3 separate regions of the Homo sapiens genome follow, and all the other regions are linked to region 3. Evidence: promoter capture Hi-C in human tissues and cell types (Jung and others, 2019). All regions are on one chromosome and are shown on one strand. Each heading gives the region's core, a stretch centred on a gene start or on the middle of the fragment in contact. The rest is flanking DNA. Distances are from core to core; before and after follow the strand shown.

What was found. Contacts are between HindIII fragments. The study calls those that stand out against the background at their distance.
Region 1: the fragment with the promoter of NFE2L1 here is called in contact with the fragment with the promoter of SP2 in region 3 in 4 of the 25 tissues and cell types used here (hippocampus, liver, neural progenitor cells and 1 more).
Region 2: a contact is called between a fragment that was not itself captured here and the fragment with the promoter of SP2 in region 3, in 2 of the 25 tissues and cell types used here (heart right ventricle and neural progenitor cells).

What each region holds. Positions count from the first base shown.
Region 1 is chr17:48,046,904-48,050,147 of GRCh38, forward strand. It overlaps NFE2L1 (NFE2 like bZIP transcription factor 1), which reads left to right and starts at 1,456. Exons shown (of 6, transcript NM_003204.3): 1 at 1,456-1,559. It overlaps NFE2L1-DT (NFE2L1 divergent transcript), which reads right to left and starts at 1,150. Exons shown (of 2, transcript NR_170231.1): 1 at 722-1,150; 2 at 1-67. It also overlaps a transcript of COPZ2 not described here. RefSeq lists enhancers at 228-831, 676-865, 832-1,433, 936-1,175, 1,434-2,035 and a silencer at 1,586-1,865. The HindIII fragment of the contact is 14,336 bases long and covers 1-3,244 here.
Region 2 is chr17:48,078,806-48,082,161 of GRCh38, forward strand. The region is part of intron 1 of CBX1 (chromobox 1); the gene reads right to left. Among named protein-coding and RNA genes, the nearest start is that of CBX1, 21 kb to the right of the region's middle. The HindIII fragment of the contact is 4,479 bases long and covers 1-3,356 here.
Region 3 is chr17:47,894,820-47,897,926 of GRCh38, forward strand. SP2 (Sp2 transcription factor) reads left to right here and starts at 1,417. Exons shown (of 7, transcript NM_003110.6): 1 at 1,417-1,474. The coding sequence starts at 1,468. SP2-DT (SP2 divergent transcript) reads right to left here and starts at 997. Exons shown (of 3, transcript NR_135480.1): 1 at 884-997. RefSeq lists a silencer at 1,487-1,916. The HindIII fragment of the contact is 13,929 bases long and covers 1-3,107 here.

The sequences.
Region 1 (3,244 bases), core at 206-2,705, 150 kb after region 3:
GGGAGACACGCGTCAGTAGTCCCTGATAAATGGAAAGATCGCTTGAGTCCAGGAGTTCCAGTCCAGCCTAGAATAGGTAAAACATGCTCTCTGAATTAGTCTTTGAAACTGGTAAACTAGCTCAGAAGTTTTTTTAAGAATTCCATGAGTGGTTTGCTGGTGTACGTTTATTATATGCAGTGAAAGTACTTAATCTGCAAACCACCCCAAATTAAGCCCCTAACTCGCAAGCACAAAATGGACTCGATTATTTACTGAGTTATCAGTTGGCCTTGTCCTTAGTTGTACAGGGACTAATGACTCACCTATAAATAATGGGCTCTTCTAAGAAGACACAGTTGAGTTGACACCTCTTTGTCCTATAGCTGGGAGGAACGCATTGCAAACGCCAACCCAATGATTCCCTAAATGGGGTCTTCGCATCAGCTGCGTTAAAATCACCCCAGCAGGCAGGTTATCCGGCCGCCACTCCAGGGTCATTAAATCAGACTCTCCAGTGGGACCTCGGAATTCGTAGCTTAGCAAGCTCCCCAAGTGATGCTGGGAGTAAACTAACGTTTGAGAGTCACAAACATGTTTTGGCAATATAACCAGATGGGACTGGAGAAATTAAAAAATGAGAAACATCCCTAAAAAAGCAAGACTAAGCTGCGTGGGAGGCCAAACGAGGGGGGTCCTTTGGGCTGTTTCTACCATGACAAAAATCGCCATTACCCCACACCTCTCACACCGCCAACGTTCCGCCAACGTTCCGCCAACGTCCCACCACCCTCATGATATCCGTCCGCGGTACTGCTCCAGCGAAGGTACCCTTGCCTGGGCCATGAGGCGCAACCGTCCCTCACAGCTGGGGTGGCTTCTCCAGGTTCGCACCGAGGGGAAGTTGGGGTACCGGTTTCCGCCGCCAGCACCCAAGATGGCGGCACGAGCGTCGCAACCACAAGAACCACATGCTTCGTGTCCCGCCTCAGCATTCTCGGGTCTCACTAGACTTTTGCAAGTCACTGTGGGAACCCTCAAGGCGAGGGTGTTCCGCACTCTGGCGGCGATACACCTTCCTATTCCCTGACCTAGGCCTTCATTCCCCCGCCACAGAAAGCGCTGGAAGCGCCCAACCTGGATACTTCACCCAACGCCCAAGCCCACTAACATCGCCCGCCGCGAAGGCGCGGCCGAGGGGCCCAGAATGCCAGACACTAGGGCCTTCGCCCTCCTCATTGGTGGGTCCATACCGCGGGGCGGGCCTAGGTACTCATTGGGCCGGGAATTATGTCAGTCTTGGGAAATCAGGTCCGGGGATGAGGAGGTACACTCAGCCATTGGGCCCTCTCTGCTGCCAATCAGAGGGACATCCGTCGACGGCCCCGGCCTCGGCTCGTTGATTGGAGAAACTGTTCCTAGGGTGTTTGCGGCGGGCGGGTTTCCGAGTGCGGTAGCAGGAGGGGGCGGGGAGGTAAGCGGAGGCTCCGAGCTCTAGGCCGGCCGGCGGTGGCGGCGGCGAGGCCGGGACTCGGGCTTAGGGCCTGCTGTGGAGGCAGCGGCGGACGCCGAGCTAAGCAGTGGGTATCGGGCACATTCCTTTCCCAGAAGGGAGGGTTGCAGCGCCGCGGGGCCGAGGCTTATGGGGCGACGGGATGGTGCTGAGGTGCAGGAGGCGGGGGCCGAGCGGGGTTCCCGCCAGAGCCCGGCCCTGGGCCTGACAGGGAGGGGCCCCGCGCGGGGCCGAGAGGAAAGCTGGCTCCGGGGTGGGATGGACTGGGCAGGGTTGAGGGCACGAGAAGGCGTGGTGTGAGGCCTGGACTTGGGAGTGGGGTGGGGCCATCGGGACGGAGGGCGGGGTGGGGTTTGCTGTAAGGGTGGGTCAAGGCCAGGGAAGTAGCACTTGTTCGCTGGCCGCCCCTGGAGGCTAGAAGCTCCGGCGCCGAGAGTGGGCATGGCGACTTGGTCTCAGCCGGACTCGGGTATCCGGGCAGGGTGGGACCAGCCTCAGGCTATGGGCCCTGCACCTACTTGATTTTTAAGGGACTTTGTCCGGTTCCTCGAACTTAATTGGCTCCTGGGAGGTTTTAGTAATAAATTGCGTGAGAACGGGAGGGTAGCGTAAGCAGGAATTCTGGGTCGCAATTGTGTTTACTCTGACCAGAGAGAGGGAGTGTGAGTGTGTGTGTGTGCGCACGTTCGTGTGTGTACGTATAGCTCGCTCTCCCCCTGTAGAATGAAGTTGGTAGATGGGTCACAACGCAGGAGAGGAGAGGCGGTATGTCTTGGTTTGTGACATTAATGGAAGCTCAAAAGTGGAGACCAGAAACAGATTTACTTCCTCTGCACTGGGCAGTCTGGCTAGAGAACGTGGCCATATCCTTCTGCTTTGGCTCAGAAGGTCATATGAATGAAAATAAAACCTGCCTATGCAAATTCTGGACGGAATAGTCCTGCGTAGTAGGGCCCCCACCATCCCTCTCCTTTTTTTCTTTCCTTTTCTTTTCTTTCTTTTTTTTCTTTTTTTGAGACGGAGTTTTGCTCTTGTTGCCCAGGCTGGAGTGCAGTGGCGCGATATCGGCCCACCACAACCTCCGTTTCCTGGGTTCAAGCGATTCTCCTGTCTCAGCCTCCCGAGTAGCTGGGATTACAGGCATGCGCCACCACGCCCGGCTAATTTTTGTATTTTTAGTTGAGATGGGGTTTCTCCATGTTGTTCAGGCTGGTCTCAAACTCCCGACCTCGGGTGATCCGCCCTCCTCGGCCTCCCGAAGTGCTGGGATTACAGGCGTCGGCCCTTTTCCTTTTTTTTCTTTTGTAAGTTGTGAGGATAGGAAAGGGAAATCAGATTTCAAAGTTCAGAAAACAAAAGGCATTCTTCTTCTGGGTGAAGTGGTGGCCTGAACATTGTCCTTTTGTCCTTCCACACTCTCACTGTTTAATAATCTTGCCTTTTTGAACTGAGAAAAGACAACTGTTATGGGTGGTTTTCTCCCGAGGGGTGAAAATCCAGCTTTACTTTTAAGACAGGAAATGGGCTTCTCATGTGAAAATAGAAGCTGGGTAATGCGCCTGTAGTGGGGGAGGAGGGCTGGTAAATAAAACAAAGGTGTAAGATATTTTGGATGACCTGGTTATTGTCTGCTTATTCAAACCAAGCTACATTTTAGGATATTGCACATTTAATATTCAGTAACTGAGATCATTCGTGATCAGTAGCTTTCTTTGATAGTTCTTCTATGATCGGTTGCTATATTTTGGGTTT
Region 2 (3,356 bases), core at 616-3,115, 180 kb after region 3:
TTTTGAGACGGAGTCTCACTCCAGCCCAGGCTGGAGTGCAGTGGCACAATCTCGGCTCACTGCAACCTCTGCCTCCCGGGTTCAAGTGATTCTCCTGTCTCAGCCTCCTGAGTAGCTGGGACTACAGGTGTGAGCTACCACGCCCGGCTAATTTTTGTATTTTTAGCAGAGACAGGGTTTCACCAACGTTGGTCAAGCTGCCAGGCTGGTCTCAAACTCGTGACTTCGTGATTCACCCGTGCTGGCCTCCCAAAGTGCTGGGATTACAGGCGTGAGCCACCGAACCCAGCTCCAGCCCCGGCCCCGCACCTCCCCCTCTTTGAGATGGAGTCTCACTCCAGCCGGGCTGGAGTGCAGTGGCACAGTCTTGGCTCACTGCAACCTCCGCCACCTGGGTTCAAGTGATTCTTTTGCCTCAGCCTCCTGAGTAGCTGGGACTACAGGTGTGTGCCACCATGCCCAGCTAGTTTTTGTTTTTTTAGTAGAGACAGGGATTCGCCATGTTGGCCAAGCTGGTCTCGAACTCCTGACCTCAAGTGATCCACCCGCCATGGCCTCCCAAAGTGCTGGGATTACAGGCATGAGCCACTGTGCCCAGCCATGTTCTCTTGTTCTTTATGCAGTCTTTTCTGAATTGAACTTACGATTCACAAATTTCTTGTTAACTTATTGTATTTAGTTTATTTTACAACTTTTTTTCTTTTTTGAGACAGTGTCTCACTCTATCACCTAGGATGGAATGCAGTGAAGTAATTATGGCTCATTGCAGCTTTGACCTCCTGGGCTCAAGTGATCCCGCTGCCTCAGTCTCCTGAGTAGCTGGAACCACAGGTGTGCGCCACCATGCCTGGCTAATTTTTTAAATTTTTAGTAGAGACAAGTTCTCAATATGTTGCCCAGGCTTGTTTCAAACTCCCAGGCTCAAGTGATCCTCCCACCTCAGCCTCCTACTGGGATTACAGACATAAGCCATCACACCTGGCCTCCAATTTATTTCTAAAAACTAAGGAAGAGTCATAAAAATGCCAGAATGATCATGAAATTCTCTAAACTGGAACCCTGTAAAAATTTGGAAAACAAGTGTGGGGAAAACAGAACTGTAGTTATCAAAGATAATAGAATCTGAGTTTACTCCTTTATAAAATACATCATCAAGCTAGGTAACATCTAAGGGTTTTTCCAGTGTTGAAATTTTAGTCCCTTATAAATCTATTTTATTTAGTCCTTCATCCAAATTTGACTTTTTTGGGGGAGGGGGACACAGTCTCCCTCTGTCGCCCAGGCTGCAGTGCAATGGTGCTATCTCGGCTCACCTACGCCTCTAGGGTTCAAGTGATTCTCATGCCTCAGCCTCCTGAGTAGCTAGGACTACAGGCACCTGCCACCAGGCCCAGTTGATTTTTGTATATTTAGTAGAGATGGGGTTTCAGCATGTTGGCCAGGCTGGTCTCGAACTCCTGACCTCAAGTGATCTGCCCGTTTTGGTTTCCCAAAACTCTGGAATTAACAGGCATGAGCTACCGTGCCCGGACCCAACTCTTTGACTTCTGACAGACTTAAAGCCTTATGATTACCAATTTTTGTCAGTAGATGGCACTGTATCAATGAAACAAAATTGATCAACAAAACTGGCCAAAGAATTACCTGGATGGCAGGTAATCCAAGACAAGGAAGAGTTACGTCTCCGCTTGAGTTTAAAATAATACCAATTTGAGGTTAAACTGGTTATTCCTAGCATCCTTAGGAAAGGAAGCTTACTTAGTGTAATCATTAAGTTTTCTAAACACTGTAAAACTGGCATGTATAGACAGAATGCACTTAGAGTCCATCTACAAGGCTGGGTGCGGTGGTTCACGCCTGTAATCCCAGCACTTTGGGAGACTGAGGCAGGCAGATCACAAGGTCAGGAGTTCGAGACCAGCTTGGCCAATATGGCGAAACCCCATCTCTACTAAAAGTATAAAAATTAGCTGGGTATGGTGGCGCTCGCCTGTAGTGCCAGCTACTCGGGAGGCTGAGGCAGGAGAATTGCTTGAACCCGGGAGGCGGAGGTTGCAGTGAGCCGAGATCGCGCCACTGCACTCCAGCCTGGTGACAGAGCGAGACTCCATCTCAAAAAAAAAAAAAAAAAAAAAAAAAAAAAAAAATATATATATATATATATATATATATATATATATATATATATAAAATTTGTCTTAGAAAAATAAATAGCATTTCTTTTTGAAAAGTTTAATCTATTTATTTGCTTATTTAGAGACCAGGTTATGAGACTGCCTAATTTTTGTATTTTCGGTAGAGAAGGGTTTTTGCCATGTTGCCAATGCTGGTCTTGAACCCCTGGGCTCAAGCGATCCACCTGCCTTGACCTCCCAAAGTGCTGGGATTACTGGCATGAGATCTGGCCAAAAAATAAAACAGCACTGACTATTATCCACCTGATCCTTCTGCTATGAGCCGAAAGGGTCAGCATAGCTTCTAACTGATCTCTACCTACTGCAAGCTTATCCTCCCTTTATCATTAATTAGCATGGCCTCAGAGAGGAACAGTCATAGAATGGCATAATTGTTAGGTAAAGAAAGCGCCCAAATGGGGAAATCTAAAGTAAAGCATTCTCATGACTTCGATCTTTACTCACTTTTATTTTTTGAGACAGAGTTTCGCTCTTGTCGCCCAGGCTGGAGTGCAATGGAGCACTCTCAGCTCACTGCAACCTTCACCTCCTGAGTTCAAGCGATTCTCCTGTCTCAGCCTCTCAAAGAGCTAGGATTACAGGCGCTCACCACCATGCCCAGCTAATTTTTTTAATACTCTTAGTAGAGACAAGATTTCACCATGTTGGCCAGGCTGGTCTCGAACTCCTGACCTCAGGTGATCTGCCTGCCTCGGCCTCCCAAAGTGCTGGGATTACAGGCCTAAGCCACTGAGCCTGGCCCTTTCCTTACTTTTTAAGTACTGTCTTAAGAGCAACTCAAATAAGAAGAATATAGAAAACAGATCCCCGCTTCTTCCTGAGCTTTCTTTACTGGCTCATCCCAGAGCATCTACATCCAGAGATACTGTATTACTGGAGATTCCCAGCCAGCCTTCCCAACGTGTTTTTTTGTTTACAATTAGTTCTCTAGGGTTTCAAGAAAGCTATTTGTCAAAATCAGTAGAGAGGTCAGGGCTCGGCAGCACACACCTGTAATTCCAGCACTTTGGAAGGCCTAGGCAGAAGGACTGCTTGAGCCCAGGAGTTTGAGACCAGCCTGGGCAACGTAGTGAGACCCCATCTCTACAAAAAATAATCAGCTGGGTGTGCTGGGAGGATCGCTTAAGCACAGGAGGTTGAGGCTGCTGTGAGCTGTGATTG
Region 3 (3,107 bases), core at 167-2,666:
TGTATTATCACACCAACCTTTTCTAGCAGTGTTTTTCAAACTGCCAGTCATGATCAACAAGAAGGAGAATAAGATAGGATAGGATAAGCATAGAAACTATCAGTGCGTCACAAGTAGTAAGCATTGTTTTCGGAAACTTTATGACACTCTCATACAAATAGCAGTGTACTGGTCTGTATGCAAAATGTATTTCTCTTGATGGACTATGTTTTTTTTTGTTTGTTTTTTTTTTTTTTTTTTTTAAGCCATCGCGCTAAGGTGTAGGTGTGATTAACCTCGTTTTACTGATGAGGACATGAAGCTCAGGGAGTTTCGGTACCCTGCCTAAGTTAGTGGGATGTGTAGGTTTCAAACCCAGACTGGTCTGAAGCCAGAATGGATTCCCTCACTAAGCTAGGCAGCCTTCCCAAGTTCTCGGAAGAGACTTGGGAGCAAAGATAAACCTACCCGCCTAGTGCCTACCAAGTGCTTTACCTCATCTCAAGAAGGTAAGGGTAAGTGGGGCAGAGGCCAAGCAGTACTTCTCAAACTCAAGCGTGCAATTCTGTCCACGCGAGGCCCTTGCTAAAATGCAGATTCTAGGCACGCCCCGTGAAGTACCGAGTCGGATTAGGAGAGGCGGCCAGGGGAGCCTGCCTTTAGAAAGAGCTTCGGATGATTCAGATGCACACGTTTGGGACCGTGGGCTATGGGGGTCGCCGCAATAACCATGTGAGGATTAACGGGGGCTTAACCGATTGTGAAAATCCCCTTAGAAGTGTCGCGTAAACAACCCCAACTCCCACTATGGTGCCGGACCCCAGTGCCTCACTGTACAAAGTCGCCCCTCCCCAGGCGACAACGAGAGAGGGACTAAATAAAAGGTTGATGGCTTTCCACTCACCAGGCATGGGGTTGAGTGGCAGCCGGCTACTGCCGAAGAGCAGGTAAAAGCTCCTGCCACACCTGGGCGAGACTGGACTTAGGGCGCAATGTATATGCTATTTCTGGGGCATTTGTGGGCCTCACCCTAAGGACTTCTGATTGGCTTCAGGGCAGATCTATCATTCATCCTCTGGGTTAGAGGTGGGTGGAAGGTCAACCTCGACCAATACAAAAGCACTCTTCGGCTAAGCCCCTCCCCTTCCAGCTTCCTGTTGCTGTACATCAACCACCCAGCGGGCGGGACTTTGCCTCCCTCCAATTGGCTGATGCACATGTCACTCATTATTCAATTGGCTTTCGGTTGGTGCGCTCTACCGTCCATCAGTGACATTGCACAGACCTATTGGTCAAATCAACGTCGCTCTAGACGCCTCTGGTTGATTGGTTAATAGTGCTGTCGGTCCCCAATGTTCCAAGCGCTTATTGGTGAAGGCTGCCGTCGCTCGGGCGGTGGCGGGCTCCGGGATTGGCGGTTGCTTGGCGGGCGGTGTCAGGCTCTCGGTGGCGGCGGAGGCGGCGGAGGCCAGGGAGGAAGATGTCGTAATGAGCGGTGGGTCCCGGCCGCTGCCGGCGGGGTCTTCCCGGCCCCCAAGGGTCAGGAAGACGGGCAGAGGCCGCGGGGAGAGGGAGCCGAGGCCGGGGGTTCCCCCCTGGGGCTGGGTCTGGCGTCGGGGCCCGGCTTCAGGAGGGGCGGGGGAGGGAGGATTCCCGCCCGGAGGAGGAGCGGGGCTGGCCAGCCGGGCGGAGGCACCCGGAAGGGGGCGTTCGACTCCCCGCCCCCTCGGAGCCCGCCGGGCGGGAGGGCGGCGCTTCCGGGGGCCGGCGAGAGGAGCGGGCACCGGGGTGGCCTGGCACCCCTCGGACGGGTGCCGACCCACTTCAACGCCGCTCTCCCGCCTGGGCGAACTATGCCTGGGTCGGCTCTGAGGAGGCAGCCAACAGCCCTTGTGTTCGCCCCGTGTCTGAGAGGCCTTCCTGCACTCTTAACTGTAGATGCCCACCAGCGATTCAGGGCTCCCCGGAGAACAGAGAGGGGCGAGGGAACGCTTGAGACCCGGACGCTGCCAACCAGATGGGCACTGCTCGGCATCGACGACAGCCCGGTTACTGATATATCCCCAGTCGGGCGATGGTGTCAGGACACGAGAGCACTCCCTGGGCAGATGACCTCTCACCGGGGAGTGGGCAAAAACCTTCCTTTAATGTTTTTACTTGGATCCTTGATCTTCCAGCTAGATATCTGCAAGCTCTTAGCAGAATTGTGAGAAGTTTGAGAACTTCTTGCCAGAGCTCCCAGCCTGTTACTTGACGCCCCGTAGGGGAGACTACTGCAGTCCCAAAGCTCAGGCGCAAACAATCTTAAGGAATTACAGAAGAAATAAAACAAAATAGATACTCGCTCTCTTCCTGTACCCACCTCCATCCCCATTGCTGACTTACGGTTTTCAGCCTCTTATCCATGCTTCTTATGTTTCCTTGCCAGCGGCTTTCTAATTTTAGTTCAGAAGGAACTATGTTTTCTCCTCTGGGCAACTGAGAAACCTGTCCTCACTGCATTCCTTGGTTTTGATTGCAATATCCTGTCATGTTTGTTTCTTAATTAACTTCATCCAAGGGGACTCAGTCTGGCCTTTCTCAGTGCATTCTCCCAAAGTTCTTTCTTCTTCTGAGGTTACTTCTTGTTCACTTATTGTTTCCTAGAGAAAGGTATGAGCCAGTAGATCTGCTTTAAACAATGAATTGGCCCAAGTTTCCCGTTTACAGATTTCATTACAGATGGACACTGTTTCAAGGTGCACTGGCATGCACTGTCTAAAACGGTTTCATGCTGTACCCCAGAAGGCATTCAGTTTCACAGTGGAGGGCTGTATTGAGTTGGTATTCTGGATGATACAATTTTTAGGGCTAGAAAGTTTAGAGTGTTGGCTGGCTCACAGGCTGCAAAGGAAATAATGGTGGAGTCCAGACCACAGCAGTAATTTCAATTACTAACACAAAGAAACCCATTGTCTGCAATAATGAATATAACTGCAGTGTCTTGTTTTGTTTTAAATTCTTGTGTGCGATGAAGGGGGCGAATCTATCAGACAACCTATCAATTGGGCTGATGATGTCAGTGTTCCAGTGGCTTCTAACAGGCGTTAATACCTGTTGGAAATGGATTATCATTGGCTGGGACGATT